Regions from separate parts of the Homo sapiens genome. Here all the other regions are linked to region 5. Evidence: promoter capture Hi-C in 16 types of primary human blood cells and fetal thymus (Javierre and others, 2016). All regions are on one chromosome and are shown on one strand. Each heading gives the region's core, a stretch centred on a gene start or on the middle of the fragment in contact. The rest is flanking DNA. Distances are from core to core; before and after follow the strand shown.

What was found. The method cuts DNA at HindIII sites, captures the fragments that hold promoters and counts their contacts. A CHiCAGO score of 5 or more calls a contact.
Region 1: a fragment that was not itself captured here is called in contact with the fragment with the promoter of SKIC8 in region 5 in 3 of 17 cell types (naive CD8 T cells, activated CD4 T cells and erythroblasts); the score reaches 6.0 in naive CD8 T cells.
Region 2: a fragment that was not itself captured here is called in contact with the fragment with the promoter of SKIC8 in region 5 in 10 of 17 cell types (erythroblasts, megakaryocytes, fetal thymus and 7 more); the score reaches 11.3 in erythroblasts.
Region 3: a contact is called between a fragment that was not itself captured here and the fragment with the promoter of SKIC8 in region 5, in 3 of 17 cell types (monocytes, endothelial precursors and M2 macrophages). The highest score is 6.8, in monocytes.
Region 4: a fragment that was not itself captured here is called in contact with the fragment with the promoter of SKIC8 in region 5 in 2 of 17 cell types (megakaryocytes and erythroblasts); the score reaches 6.3 in megakaryocytes.
Region 6: a contact is called between a fragment that was not itself captured here and the fragment with the promoter of SKIC8 in region 5, in 5 of 17 cell types (erythroblasts, M2 macrophages, megakaryocytes and 2 more). The highest score is 7.1, in erythroblasts.

The regions. Positions count from the first base shown.
Region 1 is chr15:78,126,367-78,130,688 of GRCh38, forward strand. The region is part of intron 1 of CIB2 (calcium and integrin binding family member 2); the gene reads right to left. Among named protein-coding and RNA genes, the nearest start is that of CIB2, 2.9 kb to the right of the region's middle. The HindIII fragment of the contact is 2,153 bases long and covers 543-2,695 here.
Region 2 is chr15:78,541,100-78,545,481 of GRCh38, forward strand. It overlaps PSMA4 (proteasome 20S subunit alpha 4), which reads left to right. Exons shown (of 9, transcript NM_002789.6): 2 at 806-831; 3 at 1,078-1,120; 4 at 1,384-1,546; 5 at 3,091-3,168; 6 at 3,770-3,858. The coding sequence starts at 829. Among named protein-coding and RNA genes, the nearest start is that of PSMA4, 2.8 kb to the left of the region's middle. RefSeq lists an enhancer at 1-493. The HindIII fragment of the contact is 2,341 bases long and covers 1,498-3,838 here.
Region 3 is chr15:78,448,467-78,452,648 of GRCh38, forward strand. All of the region lies in intron 2 of IREB2 (iron responsive element binding protein 2), which reads left to right. Among named protein-coding and RNA genes, the nearest start is that of IREB2, 12 kb to the left of the region's middle. The HindIII fragment of the contact is 688 bases long and covers 1,821-2,508 here.
Region 4 is chr15:78,467,581-78,471,701 of GRCh38, forward strand. IREB2 (iron responsive element binding protein 2) reads left to right here. Exons shown (of 22, transcript NM_004136.4): 6 at 2,952-3,021. Among named protein-coding and RNA genes, the nearest start is that of IREB2, 31 kb to the left of the region's middle. RefSeq lists an enhancer at 1-259. The HindIII fragment of the contact is 6,487 bases long and covers 1-4,121 here.
Region 5 is chr15:78,296,894-78,301,361 of GRCh38, forward strand. It overlaps SKIC8 (SKI8 subunit of superkiller complex), which reads right to left and starts at 2,716. Exons shown (of 11, transcript NM_025234.3): 1 at 2,669-2,716. RefSeq lists enhancers at 1,914-2,881, 2,434-2,783, 2,882-3,848, 3,024-3,113. The HindIII fragment of the contact is 6,178 bases long and covers 1,979-4,468 here.
Region 6 is chr15:78,501,629-78,505,566 of GRCh38, forward strand. No RefSeq gene overlaps it. Among named protein-coding and RNA genes, the nearest start is that of HYKK, 4.0 kb to the right of the region's middle. The HindIII fragment of the contact is 5,564 bases long and covers 1-3,938 here.

The sequences.
Region 1 (4,322 bases), core at 369-2,868, 170 kb before region 5:
ACTCCTGACCTCAGGTGTTCACCCAACTAGGCTTCCCAAAGTGCCGGGATTATAGGCATGAGCTACCACGCATAGCCTTCTTTTTTTCTTTTTAATGGGAGTAGACCTTGGGGCCCTCACTGGCAAGGAAGCAGAGGCAAGAAAAGATCCTCTGTGCTTCTTGGCCACTGCCTATGACTACAAACAGAGCCATGACCACTGTACACCAGCCACTCCATGTCCTGCGTCTGCTGTGTATTCCTATACTTATACACAGCAGGTGCTTAATACAGGCTTGTGGGATGAGTGACCAGACTTTTCCATCTATGCCTTCCACAGCAGTTACGTTATTTCAGTGGCTGCAGAGTCCCTGCCTAGTCTTAATCTTTCTTCTCTTTCTGAACATTTAGTAACACCTATTTCTTGGTTTTAACATCACTGACAAAACTGCCATGAACCTGCTCATCAACTGATGTTTCACTTTTTCTTCTGTTCACTTGTTTCCCTGGGACTCACCCCAAGGAGGCAGTGCACAGGTAGTGAATATGGCAGGTGTTCTTAAAAGCTTCTCAGGGCTCAGGGTGGCCTAGAAGTGTGGCAGGGGAAAAGGTTTGGTAGTCAGGGTCAAATTCTAGTCTAGCTTCAGACCCTTAGGCAAGTCATTCTCCTTTCTGAGCCTCAGTTTCTGCATCTGTAAAGTGGAAATAGGCCTCTCTGAAGGGGACAGTGTGAAGAGCAAATGAGATAAGGTACAGGAAGTCTATAGGCCCCAGCTGATAGGAAAGAGTACAACAGCTCCATCCACCACCCAGGTCCCAAAGGCATCTCCCCAGAGTCGGTAGCTCTGCTGTCTTTCCCTTCTCTGGAGTCACCAAACACCCTGCCCACCACTACACCCTCAGCTGCCCTGGGAGCTACAGCCCTATGTCTGAAGGAACCCTTTCTTACACTTTTGGAGAGCAAGTGCCCCATCACTGCTTGGTTCCTGACAGTACACAGGGACACAGGGACAGGTCTTCCGGCAAAGGTCAGGTCTGGGTCATGAGGAGTGGAAGGGAGGGAAGGAGAGAGGGGGCCTAACCCAGGAGTGATGGGCTCTCAGAACATTGGCAGCAGAAAACAGGACAGGCTGGGCTTTTACAGTAGAAGCCCAGACGTTTTCCCAGTTAAGGCTTGAGTTCTGCCTCCGAGCCTATATTCACCCTATTCCCCAACTGGAGTGCCCTCTCCTCTTTCTCCAGGTTGTCCAAACCCTTTCTCCAAAGCTCAACTCAAGGGTGACTTGTTCCAGGTAACCCACCTGCCTCCCATCTCCTACATGCCTGGTCTGCCTGTGCCAGCTGTCAGGAGCCGAGCCATGGGCCCTCCCAGCTCTAATGGAAATGGCTCTCCATCCAGCTCTGCCAGCTCAGGCCTCAGCACTGCCCAGGGGACCATCACACGGCTCAAGGTCAGTCTCCAGTGATCTTAGTTGATCCCCACAAGAACCCTGTGACATGAGCACAGCTGGGTTAGTAGTTCCCATTTTAGAGGTGGAGACACTTAGGCCCAGAAGGGAACAGTGGCTTGCTAAGGCCCACAGCATCAACTACCCAGCTGACTTGAATCTAGGGCTTCAGAATCTTTGTCTAGAGTTCTTTGCTCTCCTGGAGCCACGCCTTAACAAATATTTGTTCATTCATTTGACAACATCCTCCAAACATCTCTTTTGTGCCTGGACAGAGGCCATACAAGAAGGAAGCTGGAGTGTAAACAGTGAGGTGCCCAGTATAAACCATTCTGTGGCCACACAAGGGACTGGGGATGTATATGTGTCAGGCTCCCTGAGTACTCCCAGCTGAATGGATTGGTGGAGAGAGAGTCAGGGAGCCCGTCCCAAAGAGGTGAGGCCTGGCCTGGACAGAAAGATGGGCCAGACTAGGTTAGCAAAGGAGCAGGGAGAGCAGCAGGAGAACAAGGGCCAGAGGTGAGGGAGGGCTTGGCTAGAAGCCCTTCAGTGTGCCTAAAACTTTGGGTGCAAAGGGAAAGGGAGTAAGAAATGAGGCTGGAGGCCCGGCGCGGTGGCTCACACCTGTAATCCCAACACTCTGGGAGGCCAAGGCAGGTGGATCACCTGAGGTCAGGAGTTTGAGACCAGCCTGGCCAACATGGCAAAACCCTGTTTTTACTAAAAATACAAAAATTAGATGGGCATGGTGGTGGGTGCCTGTAATCCCAGCTACTTGGGAGGCTGAGGCAGGGAAAATTGCTTGAACCTGGGAGGCGGAGCTGGGATGCGGAGGTTGCAGTGAGCCGAGATCACACCACTGCACTCCAGCCTGGGTGACAGGGCGAGCGAGACTCCGTCTCAAAAAAAAAAAAAAGGAAGAGAAAGAAAGAGATGAAGGAAGAGTGAGAGAACTAAGAGGGCGGGTGGCTGGAGGGGGATGGGCAGGAGGGGCGCAGGAGGGAGCAGTCAGACCTCCAGTTTGCAGGAGACTGAGCAGGCCTAGCCCAGGGCCCTGGCTGTCGTGATGGAGGAGGGGACCTCCAGGTGACCCACAAAAGAGGCTGAGTCACAGGCCTTGTTCTTAACTGAAAACATGGGCTGAGGGAGAGCAGAGAGTTGAAATGGCTGGAGGAGCAGCAGTGGGTGTTGGAGAGGCTGTGACCCCTGTTTTGGAGTTTGAGGGGTCTGGGGGATGGCCGTACAATGCAGAGGAGTGTTCTGGACAGAAGCTTAAATGTTGGGAATCACCGGCACCGGGAACCAAGAGGGTGCACCCTGCCCAGGAAAGGTTAGACTACCAGGCTGGGAGGTCCCAAGAAACCCTAGGTGTCACTTAGGGGAGAGGGTGCTGTAACTCAGGCTCACCCCCACTCAGCCCGGGCTGGCAATGGCTGGCTGGAGAGCCAGAGGGTAGGAGATGTGGGGCTCTCAGGTTTCACAGCTCTCATTTCTCCCACCCCGCCTGGCAGGGTCTAGCTAGGCTCTGGCAAAGAATCAGAACATAACACTGGGACTGGCTCCGATGAGTAACCCAATGCCAGGCTGGTTGGAGTGGGAACCTGGGCTCCCCACCCCCATGAAGCTACTCCTCACTTCTGAGCATGGCTTGCCTGCTTGCCCCTGCCCACTCCCAAGCCTTTATCCACGCTGTCCCCTCCACCTGGAATGCCTCCTCTGGGCCCCACTGGGCAAAACCCGACCTATCTTCCCAAGGCCTGCTCAAGTGCTGTATCGTTTCTGGACTTTGTCCCCCTTCCCTGCTGGCCTCCCACTGCCCACTAGTGCCCTTCCCTAGAACACACTCCACCACCTGCCTCTATCACAAGGGCCACACACTGGAGGTGAGAGTCTGTCTCTGAGTGTCTGAGACTGAGTGCCTTGGGAACAAAAAGCACACATGGCCCAGCCCAGCCCACTCCCAACTAAAGAAGTGAGCCTAGGAGTCAAGATTCGAAATCCTGTGTGAGCCCTGAATGGCTCCTCAGCCTCTGTTTACACGTCTGTAAAATGGGCTAATAATCCACCTCACTGTGATGATCAAGTGAGTTGATGCGTAGAGGGCATCAATTACTGTGCCTGGTACACAGCAGGTGCTCCATAAATGCGTCTCCCCTCTTCCTTCCCAGGGCCTCACCTGGGGAGCTGAGAAATCCATTACTGACAACTAGGGCTTCTAGGAGGAGAAGGGGCCTTTGTTTTACCTTCACCCACATCAGAGGACCCACACTTCACACCTGCTTTCCTTCACAGCCAAAGTAAGCACTGATGAAGGCAACAAGTGCCTATGGAGACCCTGTTGGTGTTCCTCCTGCCCAGTTACACAGGCCACAACACAATCCTGCCCCCTCCGCCTGGGGAGTCAGGGGAGAGGCATCAGATGTGGGACTTGAAGGGTGAAAGAGATCCTCTGGAGGGGGGAAAGGCATCCAGGCCCAGGAAATGGCATGGGCAGAGGGAGAGAGGGAGGGAGGAATGAGCCTGGTGAGCTGGAGCAACTGCAAATGGTTTTAAGGCGGCTGCCATGCAGAGGGCAGGGAAGGGACCTGGGGAGACTGAGGCTGCAGAGATAAGCTGAGCAATTGGCCAGGGCTCCGGGTAAGCCAAGGGGTTGGGCTTCATCCTGCAACCACAGCGAAGTTTTTACCTGGGTGGGACGGTATTGGGATTCCAGATCTGGAAAGCTGGCTCTGGAGGCAGGAAAACCTAGAAAGGTCTAAGGAGGTGGCTACTGAGGGCCTAAGGGAGCTGGGAGAGGTGGCCCTGGAAGGCTGCTACCGGGCTTGCGTTCTTGCTCCAGTTATCTCCATGCTGGGGTCAGAAGGAGCGAACCCCAGCCGATAAACAAGACAGTCCC
Region 2 (4,382 bases), core at 1,418-3,917, 240 kb after region 5:
TTGGGAATCATTCAGAGGAGCCCCATTGGCTGAGAGATAAAATTCTGTTTTTACCTGGGCACGCGGGCTCTCCAGGATTTGATTCCAGCTTACCTTTCCAGTCTTGATTCCCTATATTCCAGTATTTGGAAATGTGGGCCTTGGACTGAGGCTTTACCAAATAACGCTGAACACCTAGTATTGCCTTTTGCACGAATGGTACTGATGGTGCCCAAGATAACTGCCTCCACCCCCAAGTTCAGGACCCAGATCACTCTCTGGAGAAGGCCTCAGCCTCTTGCCTTGGCTTTCAAGGCTCTGCGTGATTTGGATACTCGCTTAGCTCTTATTTATATATATTTTAAAAGCATCAGCAGTTTATCTCATGCCCACTAAACTATCCTGCCTCCGTACCCTTTGTTCATACTTTCTGCTCTGTGTGGAATGCCCTTCTTTCTTCCCCTGTTCTTTCTCTTAGACCCAAGGGTTCTCAGCCTTATTTCTGCCTCTCCCATCTCTGATTTACTTTCATTTTCTGTATCGATTTCTCAAAAAATACTTTCTTGATTCTTTCATCATCCCTTTTCCCACCCTACCCCCGGTTCCTCTTTCCACATTATAATCTATGACTGCCTCTCTCACCTAACTGCCAGTATTAGCTTTTCAGGACAGGAACTGGTTTTACACATTTTGGTATTCCAGCATCTAGCATAATGCCTGACACTTAGCTGAATAAAGGGAGTAAATAAAACAGATTTGTAAAGTCAGCAAATGCTTTTTAATTTGTGAATCTTATTTTAATGATGATCTGATTTTCTTTTTACAGGAACTATATAAAGTTCAGAAAACATGGTGAGTTAATACACATGCCAATAAACGGTTGCCTGATAAACAGTATTGCTTGTACTCAGTTTACAGACTTGAGTGGGAAAATTGAAATAGAAGGAAAGCAGTGAGAAGGTGCCTTTTTTCTTGTCAGTTTCCTCTCACCTATTGAACTTTGTATACCAGGATAGGTTTTGTAAGATCATTTGTAGGCTTGCAGGAGTTGGCCTACTTTCAGTGGGTAGGAATCACTCATGTGTTTTTCCTTTGCAGTCTCGAAGATATGACTCCAGGACCACTATATTTTCTCCAGAAGGTAAAATAGAAATTGTTTAATCTGCCTCAAGTTTAAAAATAAATGTGTTAGACTTTTAGAAAAAAAAATTACAAACTTTTTTTGGTAGTTGCAAAGTTCATCCTTTTTGTACTTTGAAGCAATTATCATCACCAGGTTGATTATACCATAGAAGAGTGAAAGTGGAAATTTGTTTCTAGCTTGCTTCATTGCTGATTTCTTTTGGGCCAGTGGTGCAGGAGCACAGAGGAGAGTCTTGGCTTCTCACTGCTTTTGTTTTGTAGGTCGCTTATACCAAGTTGAATATGCCATGGAAGCTATTGGACATGCAGGCACCTGTTTGGGAATTTTAGCAAATGATGGTGTTTTGCTTGCAGCAGAGAGACGCAACATCCACAAGCTTCTTGATGAAGTCTTTTTTTCTGAAAAAATTTATAAACTCAATGAGTAAGTGAGATTTTAGGAAAGAGTTTAAAAAAAATCTCACTTTCTCACATAAGTGGGATCTATGTAATTTGGGAGGGCTCTTCCGTGCGATGTGGTAGAATTGAAATTGTGCCTTTATTTTGCTTGAAACCTCTTTGAGGCCTGGTACCATGTGTTACTCCTTTTAAGTGCAGGGCAAACACTTAGTGGAGAAACTAGCATTGTGTAATGATAAGAGTACAGACTTAGTAGTCACACAGATTTGGGTTCAACTCCAGGCTTCACCCATGCAGGCTATGTGACCTTGCACCGATTATTTAATTTCTTTGGGCCTCAGAGCCTCCTAAAGTGGTTGTGGCAGTTTAATGAAATAAAATGAATGAAATAAAATAGTATAGTATCTGGCATTTAGTAGGCCCTCAAAGTATTGTTTAGAATAGCTACGCAGGATTTTGTTGAATTACACTGAATCTTACTAAAGAACAAGCCTCTTAGAGGTCTCGAAGAATTTAGCCAAGCCTTGTACACTGTGTGAAATGTTTGTTATATTTGAGTGTGCAGAACTTTGCAGCTCATGGAGAGCTGACCGTGCTAAGTAGAGACTTTCCTTTCAGTGGTGGTGGGCTTGGTAAATGCTGATTATCAGGGCCTTTTGATAAACTTGTCCAAAGTGGTGTCACCCCTCCACAGAGCCTCTGTTGGGACCACTCAACAGCTGGCAGGCTTGGCTAGGCGTAGTCACAGGGCGAGTCTCAGCTATAAGAGAGCCAGGGCAGCCCTCAGGAAGTGGGCCCAAAAAAATGAAATGCACCTCTAGTAGGAGCCTAGCCCTGTACTTCCTAAGCAGGCTTGTAAACCCTCCTGCCATTGTCCCCTGTCACCTCTGTCAAGCCAGGCCTTAGGAAATGAATATTACTCAAGAGCAGTCTGTCTAGCAAAATCTTTTTTTTTTTTTTTTTTTTGAGACAGATTCTTGCTCTGTCACCCAGGCTGGAGTACGGTGACGCCATCTTGGCTCACTGCAGCTTCTGCCTCCTGGGCTCAAGTGATCCTCCCACCTCAGCCGCCCAAGTAGCTGGGACTATAGGTGCGCACCACCACACCCAGTTAGTTTTTGTATATTTTGTTGAGATGGGATTTTGCCGTATTGCCCAGGCTGTTCTTGATCTCCTGGGCTCAAGCCCTCCATCTACCTCGGCCTCCCAAAGTGCTGGGATTACAGGCGTGAGCCATTGTGGCAAGCCTGTCTTTTTATTCTTTGTTGCTGAATCTTCTTGAGATTACATTAGCTTCTTGGCGTTAATTTTGTTATCCTATTCATAGGTGGTAATGATAAATACATCTATTAAATAACTTAAAGGGTGCATTTGTTTATCTTTCATGTTGAGTGACATCGAGTAAACATCTCCTACAAAGATAAAACTTGTAGGTTTTTTCTGAAGGAAGTAGCTGTTGTGAAGCAAACATAGTGAATTTCTAATAGAAATTAGAATTTTTTAAATACTTATAAACACTCCTTGCAAGCATCTTCCCTGCTTACAGATCAATGTCTTTTTTTCTTCAAGGGACATGGCTTGCAGTGTGGCAGGCATAACTTCTGATGCTAATGTTCTGACTAATGAACTAAGGCTCATTGCTCAAAGGTATGGTCATAAATAGCATAACTGATGATACAGAAATTAGTTTTGATGTTTCTTTTTTTTTTTTTTGAGACAGAGTCTCACTCTGTCACCCAGGCTGGAGTGCAGTGGCACGATCTTGGCTCACTGCAACCTCCGCCTCCCGGGTTCAAGCGATTCTCCTGCCTCAGCCTCCCAAGTAGCTGACCACCACACCGGGTTAATTTTTGTATTTTTAGTAGAGACGGGGTTTCACTGTGTTAGCCAGGATGGTCTCGATTTCCTGACCTCGTGATCCGCCTGCCTTGGCCTCCCAAAGTGCTGGGATTACAGGCATTAGCCACTGCACCTGGCCTAGTTTTGATGTTTCTAAGGAGAGCTCACTTTTGCAAAGATTAAAGTCATTAAAAATCTTTGAATTGAAAATTACAGATTTTTTTCAACCAAACTTACAAAATATTATTTACTATGAGAATATTCAGATGTTGACTTGTTCCCTCCCCTTCAAATTACAAATGACTGTTAGGTTGTCCCCATGGCATAGATTGCTTTTCAGAGAATATTTTCCTTAGAGTCTGTCTGTGTTTTAGAGAAAACTACTAATGTGCCCATCTCTTTATCCTAGGTATTTATTACAGTATCAGGAGCCAATACCTTGTGAGCAGTTGGTTACAGCGCTGTGTGATATCAAACAAGCTTATACACAATTTGGAGGTATTTAATTTTTTTGAAAATTTTATTCGAAAAAGTTAAGACATTTTATGAGTTATAACCCTTTTGAGGTAGTAAAAAATTGAAAATAGACCCTTTGTTTTAAATTAAATTTAATTTTTTTAATTGGCAAATAAGAATTGTACATATTCATGAGGTACATAATGATGTTTCAGTGCACATAATGATCAGATCAGGGTAAATGGCACATTCATCATCTCAAACACTTGTGTTGGGAGCCTTCCATATCCTTCTAGCTATTTGAAACTAATATGTTATGGTTAACTATATTAATCCTACAGTAGTATAGAACACTAGAATTTCATACATTCTTGCTTCATGAATGAACGTGTTCCTCCACCATGTAGATTACCCTCGTTTTATTAATAGGATATTGAAAGTCCAAAACAACATTTTCAAATCTGGAAACTAACTGCTGTTTACATAATAATGAAATTCAGCACTGGTCCTTTGTCTGTTCCCTCTTCTGGCTGTGTCCAAATCGTAGAAACAAAAGTCGAATTTGT
Region 3 (4,182 bases), core at 915-3,414, 150 kb after region 5:
AGAGAAAAAAAAGGTCAGAATTTATTTATTTATTTGAAGAAATAAGGTCTTGTTCTGTGGAGGTCAGACTTTGTTTATTGGAAATCAGCCCTATCCCGCCTGGTTCTGGTTAGAGACAGAAACACTTACTTGACTCTAGTCAGACATAGGCATGGGTTAGTCCTGTTGCCAGGCCTGATGGGATTACAGGGCCTTCTAGAACAGCTTCCTTATCTTTTCTCCAGGCCCCTAGCCTTCAGCAGGGTTAGCTTTACCCTGTAGCTATGCTGGCTGGTTTCTGCTCTGGTGTCCTAGCCCCCTTTCCCAGTCTGGACTCCAAAGATGGAATCTCTTTGAGGGCTTTTGGCAGGCCTAGAGAACCTGTGGCTTCAGAGTCTTTCCCCCTTCCTTCAGGCTGATGGGTTTCTCTGTTACATGTAGTTATCTAAAGCCTGCTTACTAGAGTACTAATATTCCCTATGGGTAATTTCTTCACTACTGCTTGAACTTGGAATTTTCCATTTCTGCAAATATCAAAACCCTTTTACTTCAGTGTGCTGCTTCATGATAAGCACGGAAGATAGTTTTAAATCTGTTGTGTACAGATAATACAGATAAGGTTAAAAATCTGAGTAATTTGCCTAAGGTCACAACATATCTTCTAGGTGAGGAAACTTAGTCTTAAACTCATATCTTCTGATTTCAAGACCAACGCCTTTTCTTTCCAATACCATTCTGTTTCCCGGTTTAGTAATGTCAGTAATAAAAAAAATTTTTTTAAGTATTTGTTGAGTATGTATTTACCGTATCCAGTTCTATAAGCTCTGTTATACACTTGGCCAAGGTCCCACAACTAATTACCGTTACCTACTAAGTGGTGGAACAGAAGCATGAACAAAAATCTTGATTCCAAAACCTATGCTTGTAAAAACCTGTTACAGCAGGGGTTGCAAGCTCATGTTTATAGGGATCAGAGAGGCAACGTAAACAAGTGAAATGTTCTGCTGGGAATTGTGTGGCAAACAGGAAGGCACATGTCCTATATAGAGAGGTAGGTGCTTACTAAGTTCCAGCAGAAGTACAAGGTTGGTATTGTAAAGTTTTCTGATTGAAAGACCTGTAGTTTTTTAAATGTTGGCAGTTAAATTTAAAATGTTAAAACTCTGCAGAACAAGCAAAACATGTCTGCAAGCCAGCAGACATGAAACAGAGTTTGTGACCTCTGTACTGAGAGATACACTGTGTTTTCTAATCTTTGCAGCAGCTATTTAGCCTTGAATAGTAGAATCTGCAGTCTTGGGAGCCTTGGTTTGCCTTTCATCGGATGCTTCCCGTATACAAATAGCAGACCTCAGCATTTTTTTTTCAGAGCCGAACCACCTATTGGATCTTCCACTAAGTAACTGATCAAAAGGATATTTATTGTTATCAGCTTATTTTAGAAGTGTGATGACACGAATTACTATACTAAACCAGTTTAAATTACCATCATCCCAGTTCCTCCATGGCGTTTTTAATTACCTGTCCTTAAAGGGTTAGCTTTATGGATTCATAGAATTCTAGAAATTCCTGATTAGAAGAGGCAGACGTAATCCAGTGCATTTTTTTTACTTGTTGCATGAGTCTCTAAACAATATGATTTAATTTATTGAGCTAATATTTATTGAGTACTTGTATATTTCTAGCAAATGAAAGATGGCTAAGATAGCATCTGTGCTAAAGAAAAGACACGGTTTAGTAATGGGGACATACATGGAAAGTATATGTGAAGTACAGTACTATGTTGTAGCAATTTGGGTCCAGTCAGGAGATAGAAACCACATAATAGGTTAAACAGAGGAAGCTTAATATACATAATTATTAACTATGGTAAGAGTAATTGTAATACAGGATAATTGTATATAATACTGTAGGGCTAAGGGAGAATACCCAAGGAAGGACAAACTTGGAAGAGGTTCAGAACTCACTGGAATAGGTGTGGGTTGGCCCACAGATAACAGAGAAGTATATTGGTTTTGGCCAGGTTGGAGCTGGTCTGGAGTTGCTGGGTAGGCAGTAGGCCACCCTCTGGAGTGCAGGCAGGGATCTGATGATCAGGAACTAGTGGTGTGGGCATGCGTTGGGAAAACAGATGCTGGTAGGGGGCAAGAGCCCTTCAGAGCTCATGGGCCATGTCGGGGCTTGTAGAAGGAGTGACAGCTCAATATATGACCCTCGAGGCAGCTTACAGATGTAGTCCACGTGCTGTCAGAGCAGCAGGCCTTCTTTACGGGGGTGCCTCAGTCCAGGTACTGGCACAGGCAGGATGCCTTCAGAGTGTACAGCTATGTAGGAACTCCAGCTCCTAAGTTGAGAGGGCTGTGGTGATATTAACAAATTTGTGTGTGTGTGTGTGTGTGTGTGTGTGTGTGTGTGTGTGTGTGTGTGTATTTTAATATACAATGTAATGGTGTCCACCTTTGGAAGTTCTGCATAACTTGATGAACTCTTATTTCTCAAAGACCAATAATGTAATGAGCAGACTGTAGAAGCTTATTTCATTCAAATCTTGCTCTGTTGCCCAGGCTGGAGTGCAGTGGCTCAATCTCGGCTCACTGCAACCTCCATCTCTTAGGTTCAAGCGATTCTCCTGCCTCAACCTCCCGAGTAGCTGGGATTACAGGCGCCCACCACCACACCTGGCTAATTTTTTGTATTTTTAGTAGTGATGGGATTTCACCATGTTGGCCAGGCTGGTCTCGAACTCCTGACCTCAGATGATCCACCCACCTCGGCCTCCCAAAGTGCTGGGATTACAGGTGTGAGCCACCGTGCTCAGCCTTCATTCACTTTTGAGAAACTTTTTGCCAAATGTACACATTTGAATAACCATAGTTTGTCAGTTCCTTCAAGTGAAAAACTGTTCTTTAAAAAAAAAAAAAGCTTAATTTTAGCTTGCAGCTCAATCATACAAGAGTTTTTCTGCAAGCAACTGATGTACTTTGTTTTCGAGTAGAAATATTGTATAAATATATTTCATTTTTGTCACACAGAATATTAAGACTTGACCTCAGCAGTTGAGATTTAATAAAATTAACAGTTTTTCTGCTTCTTAGGGACATTTTTAAGTGAAACTGGTATTTTGTGTGACAGTAAACAATACGAGTACTACAGGTTGAGTATCCCTAATCTGAAAATCTGAAATCTGAAACTTTTTGAGCACTGACGCTCAAAGGAAATGCTCATTGGAGCACTCTGGATTTTTTTCTTTTTTCTTTTTTTAAGATGGAGTTTCACTCTAGTCTCCCAGGCTGGAGTGCAATGGCACAATCTTGGCTCACTGCAACCTCTGCCTCTAGTTCAAGCGATTCTCCTGCCTCAGCCTTCCTAGTAGCTGGAACTACAGGTGTGAGCCACTGCGTCCAACAGGGTTTCACCATGTTGGTCAGGCTGGTCTCAAACTCCTGACCTTAGGTGATCCACTCGCCTCAACCTCCCAAAGTGCTAGGATTACAGGAGTGAGCCACCACACCTGGTGGATTTTGGATTTTTGGATTAGGGATACTCAACCTGTAGTACAATTTGGTGCCACTGCTTTGAGTCCTGCTAAGGCATCAGCAGTTTAGGACCACATTTCGAAAATCACAGTATAGGGTTGGGGGACCACCTAGGGAACCTAAGTGAGAGATGATGTACTGGTGGTTGGGACTAGATTTAATGGTGATATTGATAGAAGACAAAAAGATGTAGGAGAGAGGCATTGAGGAAAATGCCTCGATGTTTTGGCATAAACATCTGGAAGGATGGTGGTGCTATTTACTGTGCTAGGGAATGGAAGATGAGGTGATGATAAGGGGAAGGGGCAGAGGGGAAATCACTGAGTTCAAGTTTAGGTACTAGTGAAGTTGGGAACATACCAGTATTAAAGTAAACATGTTCACCTCCTGAATCGGGCATGTGGTTTTGGAGCTTAGAAGACAGACTTGGACTACAGAAAATATTTTGGAATTATTAGTGTAGATGTAGTGATAATTGAAGCCATAGGAGCAGTTGTACTCCCTGGAGGAAGCAGTATAGAGTAAGAAAAAAAGTGAGTCTCAATATGAACTCTGAGGAACTCCTACATTTAGATATCAGATAAAGGAGTAGAGGTTAACAAGGAAGATAGGCCTACCTAGAAGTGTTAAGAACTATAAAGGAGGCTTGGCATGGTGACCCACACCT
Region 4 (4,121 bases), core at 767-3,266, 170 kb after region 5:
CTTGGGTGGCTGAGGCATGAGAATCGCTTGTACCAGGAGGCAGGGATCACAGTGAGCCGAGATCACGCCACTGCACTCCAGCCTGGGTGACAGAGCAAGACTCTGTCTCAGAAAAAAAAAAAGTCATACAGCTTTTTAAAATATGTACTATAAAGTTTCCAAACTTTTAAAATTTATTTATTTATTTTTAGAGACAAGGTCTCACTATGTTGCCCATGCTGGTCTCAAACTCTTAGGCTCAAGCGATCTGTCTGCCTTGACCTTCAAAAGTTGGTTTTTTTTGTTTTGTTTTGTTTTGAGACAGAGTCTCACTCTATTGCCTGGGCTGAAGTGCAGTGTCATAAGCATGGCTCACTGCAGTCTCGATCTCTTGGACTCAGGTGATCCTCCCACCTCAGCTTCCCAAGTAGCTGGAACTTCAGGCATGCACCACCATGCCTGGCTGATTTTTTCTGTATACAGGGGGTGTCACTGTGTTGCCCAGACTGGTCTCGAACTCCTGGCCTCAAGTGATGCTTCCACCTTGGCTGCCCAAAGTGCTGGGATTATAAGCATGAGCTACTGTGCCCAGCCATATTTTTATTTTTAAGAGAGTTATGTGAATTGTTTTTGTCTTAGTTTAAATAATTCATGTAAAATATAACAATTTATCCCATTGTTAGTAAACTGTCTTTTTTTTTGAGATGGAGGGTCTCTCTGTCACCCAGGCTGAGGTGCCGTGGCACCATCTGTAGCCCACTGCAGCCTCCAACTCCTAGGCTTAAATGATCCTCCTGCCTCAGCCTCCAGAGTAGCTGGGACTACAGGCACACACTGTCAGGCCTGACTTATTTTATCTACCTTTTTTTGGGGTAGAGATGGGCACTATGCTGTCCAGGCTGGTCTTGAACTGGGCTCATGCAGTCATCCCACCTTGGCCTCGCAAAGTGCTGGGACTGCAGGCATGTGGCACTCCACCTGGCTTTTTTTTTTTTTAATTTAGTAAAAAATTACTTGCACTTTAGGTTTTAAAAAGTTTAACACATTTAAGATTTAGAGTAGCTAAGAGTAATGTCCATTCATTTATCCTAAGTACCAAATAATACGTTAATTCCTTTGTCCCTGACTGGATCTTCCAAATTCTGTCTAGTTCTAAAATATTGGGCTTAATATTTTTATGAAGCCACAGGTTATAGTGACCTCGTGTGCTCTTCCTTTCTAAGGATTCAGTATAATCTCTGAGTCTTTTGCCATCAAATTTTGAAAGTTTTATGAAGTCACTTTCTTGTTCCTGTTGCCTAGTTGTCCTGGTTGTTAGGAGCATGTTGACTTTTGAGATTAACACCTCTTATACAGAAATTAATTTCCTGAAAAGGAAGATTTATTGATTCAAAATCATTGATTTCTTTAGTTTTTGTTTCTTTTTATAACTGGCACATCGTAAGTGCTTAGTGCTATATTTTTATTTCTAAAAATCCAATCTGCTGTAACATTTCCCCATAATTTTGACTCCGAATTACAAAGTATTAAGATAGATTATATTGTAGTTCCTGGCTATGTGATAATAGTTACTCATTTGTATCTTTTAATGTGTCAGTGAAGTATTAATTATTGACTTAAGAAGTTGAGTAGAAAGATGAGAGCATAACCTTTGGCACTTCAAATTACCCCCTAGTTTGAAGTCAGGTTATGAGCCAATAAATGTTTGTATGGCACTTTGTAGCCATAAGTGCTATTGAAAGGTAAAATAATTGGAGTGGCTCAGAAAGCTGTTTTCCCTGAGGCCCTGAGAAAAATCTCACTAAGATATGCTTGGCTTCAAAAGATGACTCAACTATGAATTATTAAAGTAATCTTTGTTTAAAAAAAAAAAAAGTTGTCCGAGTGTGGTGGCTCACACCTGTAATCCCAGCACTTTGGGAGGCTGAGGCGGGTGGATCAGTCACCTGAGATCGGGAGTTTGAGACCAGCCTGACTAACATGGAGAAACCCCATCTCTACTAAAAATACAAAATTAGCCGGGTGTGGTGGTGCATACCTGTAATCCCAGCTACTCAGGGGGCTGAGGTAGGAGAATCGCTTGAACCCGGTAGGGCGGAGGTTGTAGTGAGCCGAGATCATGTCATTGCACTCCAGCCTGGGCAACAAGAGCGAAACTCCGTCTCAAAAAAAAAAGGTTGACAATTAAACAACTGTAATTATCTGGACTAATTATCTGGTCCCTGGAGGACACGTATAATTTAAGTTATATTGATATTCTAGTCAACACCCAGTCACCAGCTGGCAGGTAAAAGAAGCAGCTTAAAGCTGTTTGAAATAATTTTTAAAAATAACTATTAGATAAAAATAATTTTTTAAAAATGATACTATGTTACTGGTTAGAGGTCAATTATTTTTGTCTCTTAGTTTAAATAATTCATGTAAACTATATTTATAATCCATGTAAAGTGAACTGCTACTTATACATAAAGTAGAGCCTTCTTTTGGTATGAGATGAATGAAAGATTTTTGCCAAAAGCTCTTTTTAAACTGTAAAATGATGTTGAGATGTTGTTCGTCAATGCTGCATAGAAATAATCAGCACCCATCTCCTAGTTTAATTGGCACAAGAGCCAGGTGGGGAGGAAAGTACATGCTTGTCGTTGAAGCTACTACTTTCCTCTTTTCTTGCAGCGGATAACCCAACAAAGTGTGTTTTTATTATCACTTGAGTACAGTTTTGGACATTGGTGTAATGTGGCTTTCTTACACTCAGTAAAATACAACTCACTTTTGTAGCTTTCCGGTGTGTTATTTTAAAGCAGAACTTTGTTGAAAAAGAAAATAATTCTGAGAAACCTAGTAAATAGTTCTTCCAAGGATTTTAAGAATATATTTGTGTATATATATGCCTAAGAACGATGACTTAGAAAGAAACAAGGCAAGTCTTTTTTGTAATACATACGTTTAATGCCAGCTCTTCTTCCTTTTAGACCTGAAACAGTGTTAAAAAATCAAGAAGTAGAATTCGGCAGAAATCGAGAGAGGCTTCAGTTTTTTAAGGTATAAATGATTCAGGGAAATTTTTGTATTGTAATATATAAACTAATGATAGGTACAATTTTTATATCTTTGTTTCTTTTTCTTTTCCTTTTTTTTTTTTTTTTTTTTTTTAAGACAGAATCTCGCCCTGTTACCCAGGCTGGAGTCCAGTGGCGTGATCTCAGCTTACTGCAGCCTCCACCTCCTGGGTTCAAGCAGTTCTCCTGCCTCAGCCTCCCGAGTAGCTGGGATTACAGGCGCACACCAGCACGCCTGGCTAATTTTTGTATTTTTAGTAGAGATAGGTTTTCACCATGTTGGCCAGGCTGGTCTTGAACCCCTGGCCTCAGGCAATCTGCCTGCCTCGGCCCCCCCCAAAGTGCTGGGACTACAGGCATGAGCCACCGTGCCTGCCGTATTTATTATTTTATTTATTTATTTATTTATTTTTGAGGAAGAGTCTTGCTATTGCCCAGACAGGAGTACAGTGGTGTGATCTTGGCTCACTGCAACCTCTGCCTCTTGGGTTCAAGCGATTCTTGTGCCTCAGCCTCCTGAGTAGCTGGGATTACAGATGTGCACCACTGCCTGGCTATTTTTGTATTTTTAGTAGAGACGGGGTTTTGCCATGTTGGCCAGGCTGGTCTCGAGCTCTTGGCCTCAAGCCATCTGCCTGCCTTGGCCTCCCAAAGTGCTGCGATCACAGACATGAGCCACTCTGCCCAGCCACTTTAGTAGTTTCTAAAGGTTTTATAGTAGTAGAACGCTTTTGTTCCTCAAATGAAATCTTAATTGGAAACCCTATTGTGTAGAGAAAGATGAAAACAGTGGCTCTAGTTTAGGAGAGAGAGCTTGGAGGGAGGGCCTTGTACATTGAGCCTTTCTTCCTTCTCATTCCTGAGAATCTTTGGAACGCAGTTGAATACTGCCATTTGTCTGGACTTTTTGAACATTTTTATTTGACCTAAATTAATTTTGTCTTAATAAAAAATACATTTAGGTTCAGTATCTGTATATTTGTTTTTAACTATGTGATATGAACTTTGTATTTACCATATTGAACATTAGTTAAAATATTTTTAATGTTAATATTACACCTTGATTGTGAGCACAAATTTATA
Region 5 (4,468 bases), core at 1,466-3,965:
CGCTACAGACACTAAATTATCCAACACAGAACCACTGTTCCTTGGGGAAACAGGTTCCTGAAAGCCTCTGGGCACATTCTTGTCAACCAATCAATACATAATCATGTTTTATGTGTGTTTATGTTTAAAGGCACTTACTGAATATACATTAGTAATTCATTAATACTGAACTCATGCCTAAACAAAGCTTATCTAACACACATATTTTCTCCATAAGACAAATCACAATCTTCTTGCATTTAGAAGCACCTCAGCACTATGCTTGGGGGCTATCTCAAACAGTGGAATCACCGACAAAAAGCACAAAGATGAGAAAAATGTAGCACCAAAGACTGCAAAAATGACATTTGCTTACAATATGAGAGTTGACAAGAAGGCAGTGTCACCTTGTTTGACTTCAGTTGAGAACATGTGCATCAGGCAACTAAAATTTTTCACGTGAAAAAATGTCATGTCTTCCAAAGACCACAAAAGCATTGTAAGTATTAATTTGAGGGCTACAGACAAATTTTAGTAAGTAGGTGAATTCATAAATACAGAATCCACAAATAATGAGGATAGACTGTATGCTAAAATTTTATCAAAATACAAAAACATATGTGCTTCTTTACTGACACATTATATATGTGATCTAGAAGCAAATTTAATAACTACCATAATTTCGAAGTTGCAATGAGCTTACACAATATCATGATATGAAAATATCTATAATTTATATTCATAACAAAGTCACACTGCTAATAATGTGATTTGTTGCCTACATTCACAGTGGAAGAAAATGCTAAATTTCAGTTGGAGGTTAGGAAACATAAAGATGCAATTTTTCCTCTCAGCCAAGTTCACGGCCCTCGCAATTCTACCCATTGGCAGTTTAAGGGACCACACAGTTAAGGCATCCAGGTTCAGGTTACTTTCTTTAAATCTGCCAGCCTAAAAAGCTGCCGAAGGTTTTCCAATAACAGGAAATCAAACAAACAAACAATTTATAACTAATCCTTGCCTATGAAGATCTCAAATTGGTAGTGTTTTGTTTTGGTTTTGTAAAGACAAGTTCTCATTATGTTGCCCAGGCTGGTATCAAACTCCTGGCCTCAAACGATCCTCTTGTCTTGGCCTTCCAAAGTGCTGGGATTACAGACAGGTTGGTAGTGTTTTATTCATTTGTGACCCATGAACAGGGTTCTTTCTGCCCAGGGTAGGAAAGACAGGAAAGTGCTCAAGCCAGTTTGGCTAATGGGAATGGTATTCAACCTCTGCTTCAGCACAGCCTTCTGCCTGCTGAAGCACAGGCTTGTCCTCTTCCCTGTCATTCTGGGCCTCACATTTGGCAATGGATAGAAACAAAAAAAGGAGGAAGGCTTGCGGTAAGCCAGCTTCCAAAAACCCGGGCTCCAAAAGACAAGGGTGTGATTCTATCAATGAGTGCACATTTGAGGATGTACAATGAATCCGGTCCTATTTTAAGTAATACACAAAGATTTAGCTCACTGAAACCTCATAACCCCGCTTACTAGGTACAGTAGTTCTTTAGCTGAGGTTTTGATTTCCACAGTTCCAGAGGTCAACCGTAGTCCAAAAATAGGTGAGTAGAGTGCAGTAAGATATTTTGAGAGAGACCACATTCACATACATTTTATTACACTGTTATAATTCTATTTTATTATTATTGTTGTTATTCTCTTATTGTGCCTAATTTACGAATTAAACTAAGTAATCACAGGTATGTATGTGTAATCTGTATGAGAAAAAACACAGTATAGATGCTCCTCAACTTACAATGGGGTTACTTCCCAATAAACCTATGTAAAGTTGAAAAATTGTAAGTCAAACCACGGTAAGTCAGTCAGGGTCCTTCACTATCCAAGATTTCAGACATCCACTGGAACGTACACCCCGCAGATAAGGGGGGAACTACTATTTTTTTATTATCAGTTCCACTTTTCTAGTAAGAAAAGGGAGGCTTAGAAGCGGTTAAGGAAGCTTCCCCAAGGGACACTAAAAGGTGGATACAAGCTATAGTATAGGCTACCAAGATACACTACCTCTTACTTCAGGGTCTTATGAAGGTCAGAGCTAAGAGACTTTAGACCTTAGCCCTCTCTTGCCATCTTCTCTCTTTGGGAAACTTTTCCCTAAATTTCCTAGGCAGAATTCATCACTGACTCAGTGTTTCCAAGGAACACTACAGATGCCTCTATGAAACTACTCAGGCAAGTCAACAGCCCACAGTATTGCACGGTACTTGGCGTAAAGCGAACCCAGCCTCTGTCTGTACCCGTCCAGTGATGTCTGTATCTGTCCAGCACGCTACCTAAGACAGCGTGGCCCACTACTGGAAAACTTCGGTTAATACAGCCCTCCCAGCTACGGATAAATGATCTCCTCCGCAGAGAAACCAGCCCTAATCTCGATACTGCCCAGAACATTCTCAGGACGCAAAAGGAGGCCACCCACGGGCCTCCCCCACTCCCCTCAGGCCCCGTACACCGAGGAACAGCCAGGGCAAATGGAGCCATGGAAGCCACCCTCAGGCCCCAGGGCCTGGAGCATCCCTGAACGGACCTGCTTACAGGCAGCCTCGGGCCCAACCTCGCTCACTCGCCCTCTGGCCTGGACTGTCAACGGCCCTAATGACCCCAATCCCCAACGGCCCTGCGCTCCAACTCACCACTGCACTGCCAGGCTGCACGTCGGAAGCCGGGCTCCGCGCGACTGCGACGCGCAAAGATGAGCTATCGAAGGGGCGGGGCATCGCGCCGGCCCCGCCCTCACGGCTCGGAGCACTCCGCAGCGCCCGTTGCCGTCGCTATGGCGGGCGCGGGGCAGACGCCGACGAGGGTGGGCGGAGAGAGGAGGGAGGAAGCCAGGTCCTGCTTCCAGAGGAGTGGTAGTTGGAAATTTGCTTCCGGAAGCGCAGACGTTTAGCTTCCGGCAACTGCAGGTTTAGAGGTTTGTGTTGCAATTTCATTTTGTACTTTTGAGATTGGACTAAAGCTAATAACTTCTGTTGCTGAAATAAATTCAGTGAAATCGAGCTTTGTCTTTCAAACTGCTAGTCATGACCCATTAACGTGACAGATATCAGTTTAATAGGTTGTCAACTGACTTTTTTTTTTTTTTTTTTTGAGGGCCAGGCAGAGTAGCTCACGTCTGTAATCCCAGGACTTTGGGAGCCGAGGTGAGAGGCTTGCTTGAGCTCTGGGTTTCCAGACCAGCCTGGGCAACATAGCGAGAGACCTCGTGTCTACTAAAAATAAAAACAATTAGCACATGCCTGTAGTTCCAGTTACTTGGGAGGCTGAGGCAGGAGGATCGCTTAAGCCCTGGAGGTTGAGGCTACATTGAGCCGTGATGACGCCACTGCACTCCAGCCTGGGGAACAGAACTAGACCCCGTCTCAAAAAAAAAAAAAGAGATGGGGCTGGGTGTGGTGGCTCATGCCTGTAATCCCAGCATTTTGGGAGTCGGAGTGGGTGGATCACTTGAGGTTAGGAGTTTTGAAATCAACCTGGCCAATATGGTGAAACCCCGTCTCAAGTAAAAAAAAAAAAAACAGAAACAAAAACAAAATTAGCCGGGTGTGGTGGCATGTGCCCGTAATCCCAGCTACTTGGGAGGCTGAGGCAGGAGAATCGCTTGAACCCTGGAGGCAGAAGTTGCAGTGAGCACAGATCACACCACTGCACTCCAGCCTGGGCAACAGAGTGAGACTGTCTCGAATAACAACAACAAAAAAAGATGGGAAGAGGCTCATGCCCCATTATGGAGGCCGCCCTGTGGCTCAGATGTGGTGGCTCACTCCTGTAATCCCAGCACTTTGGGAGGCCAAGGGGGGAGGATTGCTTCTGGCCGTGATTTCAAGACCAGTATGGGCAACATGGCGAGACCCAATCTCTACAAAAAATTTTAAAGTTACAGACGCAGTGGTGTGCACGTGTAGACCCAGCTGCTCAGGAGGCAGAAGTGAGGATCACTTGAGCCCAGGAGTTTGAGGCTGCAGTGAGCTATGATTGGGCCACTGCACTGTAGCCTGGGTGACAGAGTGAGACCCTGGCTCTAAAAAATATTTTTCGAAAAAACTAGTTTTGAAGTTCAAATATATATATAGAGAGAGAGACGGAGGACTATTAGACCACTTACAACTAGGTGAAGTTCATCTTTGGGGGCTTTTTTTTCTTTTGAGACTGAGTCTTGCTGTGTCACCCAGGCTGGAGTGCAGTGGCGCAATCTCGGCTCACTACAACTTCTGCCTCCTGGGTTCAAGTGATTCTCCTGCCTCAGCCTCCCCAGTAGCTGGGACTACAGGCACCCACCACCACACCCGGCTAATTTTTTTTTGTATTTTTTTTTTTAGTAGAGACGGGGTTTCACCATGTTGGCCAGGCTGGTCTCAAACTCCTGACCTCAGGTGCTCCACCCACCTCTGCCTCCCAAGTTGCTGGGATTACAGGCATGAGCCACTGCACCT
Region 6 (3,938 bases), core at 507-3,006, 200 kb after region 5:
CCTGTCTGTACTAAAAATACAAAAAAATTAGCCGGACATGATGGCGGGCGCCTGTAGTCCCAGCTACTTGGGAGGCTGAGGCAGGAGGATAGCATAAACCCGGGAGGCAGAGTTTGCAGTGAGCAGAGTTCACGCCACTGCACTCCAGCCTGGGCGAAACAGTGAGACTCTGTCTCAAAAAAAAAAAAAAAAAGCAAAAATGAAATGTCCCGCCATCCAGATGCCATCCAGGAGCAGCTGAGGATGCCTGCTCCCTGTGCTGCCCGTTCATTAGTGTTCATGAAACAAGTCATCGGAAGCTGGGAGCCAGGATCCCAGGTGTATTTGTTTGTTCTCGCATTGGTATAAAGAAATGCCTGAGACTGGGTAATTTATTTTAAAAAGAGGTTTAATTGGCTCATGGTTCTGCAGGATGTACAGGAAGCATGATGCTGGCATCTGCTTGGCTTCTGGGGAGGCCTCAGGAAACTTACAATCAAGGTGGAAGATTAAGTGGGAGCAAGCACTTCACGTGGCCAGAGCAGGAGGAACAGAGAGACAGGGGAGGTGCCACACACTTTTAAACAACTAGATCTCAGGAGAACTCACTATTGGGACAACACCAAGGGGGATGGTGTTAAACCATAAGAAACCACCCCCATAATCCAGTCACCTCCCACCAGGCCCCACCTCCAACACTGGGGATTACAATCCGACATGAGATTTGGGCGGGGACACTCATCCAAAAAGACGTATCCTTTCTTCCCACTATTATTAGCAACCTAAAAGAGTAAGGTTTATTTCTTAGAATTCAGTAATCATAAACCATAATTGGCACTTTATTAGAATTTTCTAAGGATTCCAATTTAGTATTCTAAGAAGTTTGCATTACCTAAAGGCTAATACCAACATAGGCACAAGCTGATAGTTTGAATATGCAGTCTAGGAGGAAACTTAAGAGCTTCATCAGTGTAGCATTTAGTTGGTTTACAGTTTTCACTTGATGCTAATTTTGCTTTTTAATTACAAAGTAGCTTCAGATTTACCATTTTGATTTGATGTATGTTGTAAACCTGTGTTCTGTACTTGAAAAATGCATTTATTGCAAAAGCAGATGCATATGTAATTCTCACAAAATTTGCTGGTATAATGACAAGTGTGGCCAGGCGAGGTGGTTCACACTTTGGGAGGCCAAGGCAGGAGGCAGGAGGATCACTTGAAGTCAGGAATTTGACCCCACCCTGGGCAACATAGCAAGACCCTGTTTCTTAAAAAATAATAATAATTAGTTTGGTGTGGTGCTGTGCACCTGTAGTCCCAGCTAGTTGGGAGGCTGAGGCAGGAGGATCGCTTGAGCCTAGGTTGAGGCTGCAGTGAGCTATGATTTATGCCACTGCACTCCAGCCTGGGTGACAGCAAGACCCTGTCTTTTAAATAAGTGTGTTGTCACTGTGAATTTTGTGTTTATGTGGTGTTAGTACTGAATTTTAAGCATTTTTTTCAGTATTTCCCTATCAATATCTATATGATCTGTGGCAGGGTCCCTTTTTATTACCAATATTGGTAATTTGTGTTTTCTTTTTTTTCCTTGATTAGTCTTTCTAAAGGGTTAGAAATTGAGTTAATTTTTTAAAGAGCCAATTTTTTACATTATTTTCTCCATTGTTTTCTGGTTTTTTGTTTGGTTTTGGTTTTGGATTTTTTTTTTTTTTTTTTCTTTTTGAGACGGAATCTGGCTCTGTTGCCCAGGCTGGAGTGCAATGGTGCGATCTCGGCTCACTGCAACCTCCACCTCCCGGGTTCAAGTGATTCTCCTGCCTCAGCCTCCCGAGTAGCTGTGATTACAGGCATGCGCCACCATGTCTGGCTAATTTGTTTTGTATTTTTAGTAGAGACGGGGTTTCACCATGTTGGCCAGGGTGGTCTCAAACTCCTGACCTTGTGATCCGCCCACCGGGGCCTCCCAAAGTGCTGGGATTACAGGCATGAGCCACCGTGCCCGGTTTGTTTTGTTTTATTGGTTTCTGCTCTGAAGTATTTCCTTTCTGTTACTTATTTAATTTCCTCCTTTCCCCCAGCTTTGTAACACTTTTCCTCCAATGTAAATGTAAATATTTAAATTTTCCTCTAAGTGCTGCTTTAGCTGTAGCCCACCGTGGAAACTAAAGCCAATTTTGAGCATTTTAAACAACTTGTAATATATAAAGGAAGTATCATAAAACTGCTGGGATATTGTTTTATGAGACATTGTTTTATAATGTAAAATCATGTCCATAATCTCACTGCAAATTGTTCATTTTGTTTCACTCCAGTTTTGTTTTTTTTTTTTTTTTATCGCTGAGCTCTTTTTTAAAAAAATTATAAAAATAGAGGTGGGGGTCTCACTGTGTTGCCCAGGCTGGTCTTGAACGCCTGGCCTCAATCAGTCCTCCCACCTCAGCCTCCCAGACTGCTGGGATTACAGGCATGAGCCACCATGACCAGCCACTGAGCTATGTTTGAGAGCAACTACTTAAAAGTGCTCCAGTAGCCAACTGAAGAAACGTTAATACAATGACATGACATTTTTCCCCCCTAGAAACGGGTCTCACTATGTGGCCCAGGCTGACCTCGAACTCCTGGGCTCAAGCACTTTTCCTGCCCAAGCCTCCTGGAGTAGCTGGGACTATAGACATGCAACACCATGCCCCGCTTAAAATGACATATCTGGCCGGACACGGTGGCTCACACCTGTAATCCCAGCACTTTGGGATGCCAAGGCGGGCGGATCACGAGGTCAGTTCGAGACCAGCCTGGCCAACATAGTGAAACCCCGTGTCTACTAAAAATACAAAAATTAGCTGGGTATGGTGGCATGTGCCTGTAGTCCCAGCTACTCGGGAGGCTGAGGCGGGAGAATCGCTTGAACCCAGGAGGCGGTGGTTGCAGTGAGCTGAGACCGCACTGTTGTACTCCAGGCTGGGCGACAGAGCAAGACTCTGTCTCAAGAAAAAAAAAAAAAATGACAACGCATCTTGTCTTACATTGGTGGAACTTTTTAAAATGTTGTAAATGTTGTAAATGTTTAAAATCCAATGTTGGTATTATTGAGAGGAAAACATGATTTGACAACATGTATTAAGAGGCTTAGACCGGGTGCAGTGGCTCACGCCCCTAATCCCAACATTTTGCCAGGCTGAGGTGGGAGGATTGCTTAACCCAGGAGTTCAAGACCAGCCTGGGAAACATGGCGAAACCCGTCTCTACAAAAAATTAGCCGGACGTGGTGATGCGCACCTGTAGTCCCAGCTACTCGGGAGGCTGAGGTGGGTGGATCCCTTGACCCCAGGAGGCGGAGGTTGCAGTGGGCTGAGATCACGCCACTGCACTCCCGAGTGACAGAGTGAGACCCTGTCTCAAAAAATAAAAAGGCCTTAAAAGTGTTTATTCTCTTATACCTAGTAATATGATGCTGAGCAGTTTTAAACACATAAAGTGCACGAAAGATTTATGTATGAGGATATTATTATTTTTTTTTTTTTTTGAGACGGAGTCTCGCTCCGTCGCCCAGGATGGAGTGCAATGGCGCGATCTCGGCTCACTGTAAGCTCCGCCTCCTGGGTTCACACCATTCTGCTTCAGCCTCCCGAGTAGCTGGGACTCTAGGTGCCCGCCACCATGCCCGGCTAATTTTTTTGTATTCTTAGTACAGACGGGGTTTCACCGTGTTAGCCAGGATGGTCTCGATCTCCTGACCTTGTGATCCGCCTGCCTCGGCCTCCCAAAGTGCTGGGATTACAGGCGTGAGCCACCGCGCCCGGCCGAGGATATTCTTTAAAACAAGGAAATGGTCACTTAAAGTGAAAAAGGCAATTTACAAAGTACATTTTTTTTTTTCTTTTTTGAGACAGTATTGCTCTGTCATGCAGGCTGGAGTGCAGTGGTGCGATCTCGGCTCACTGCAAACTCCATCTCCCAGG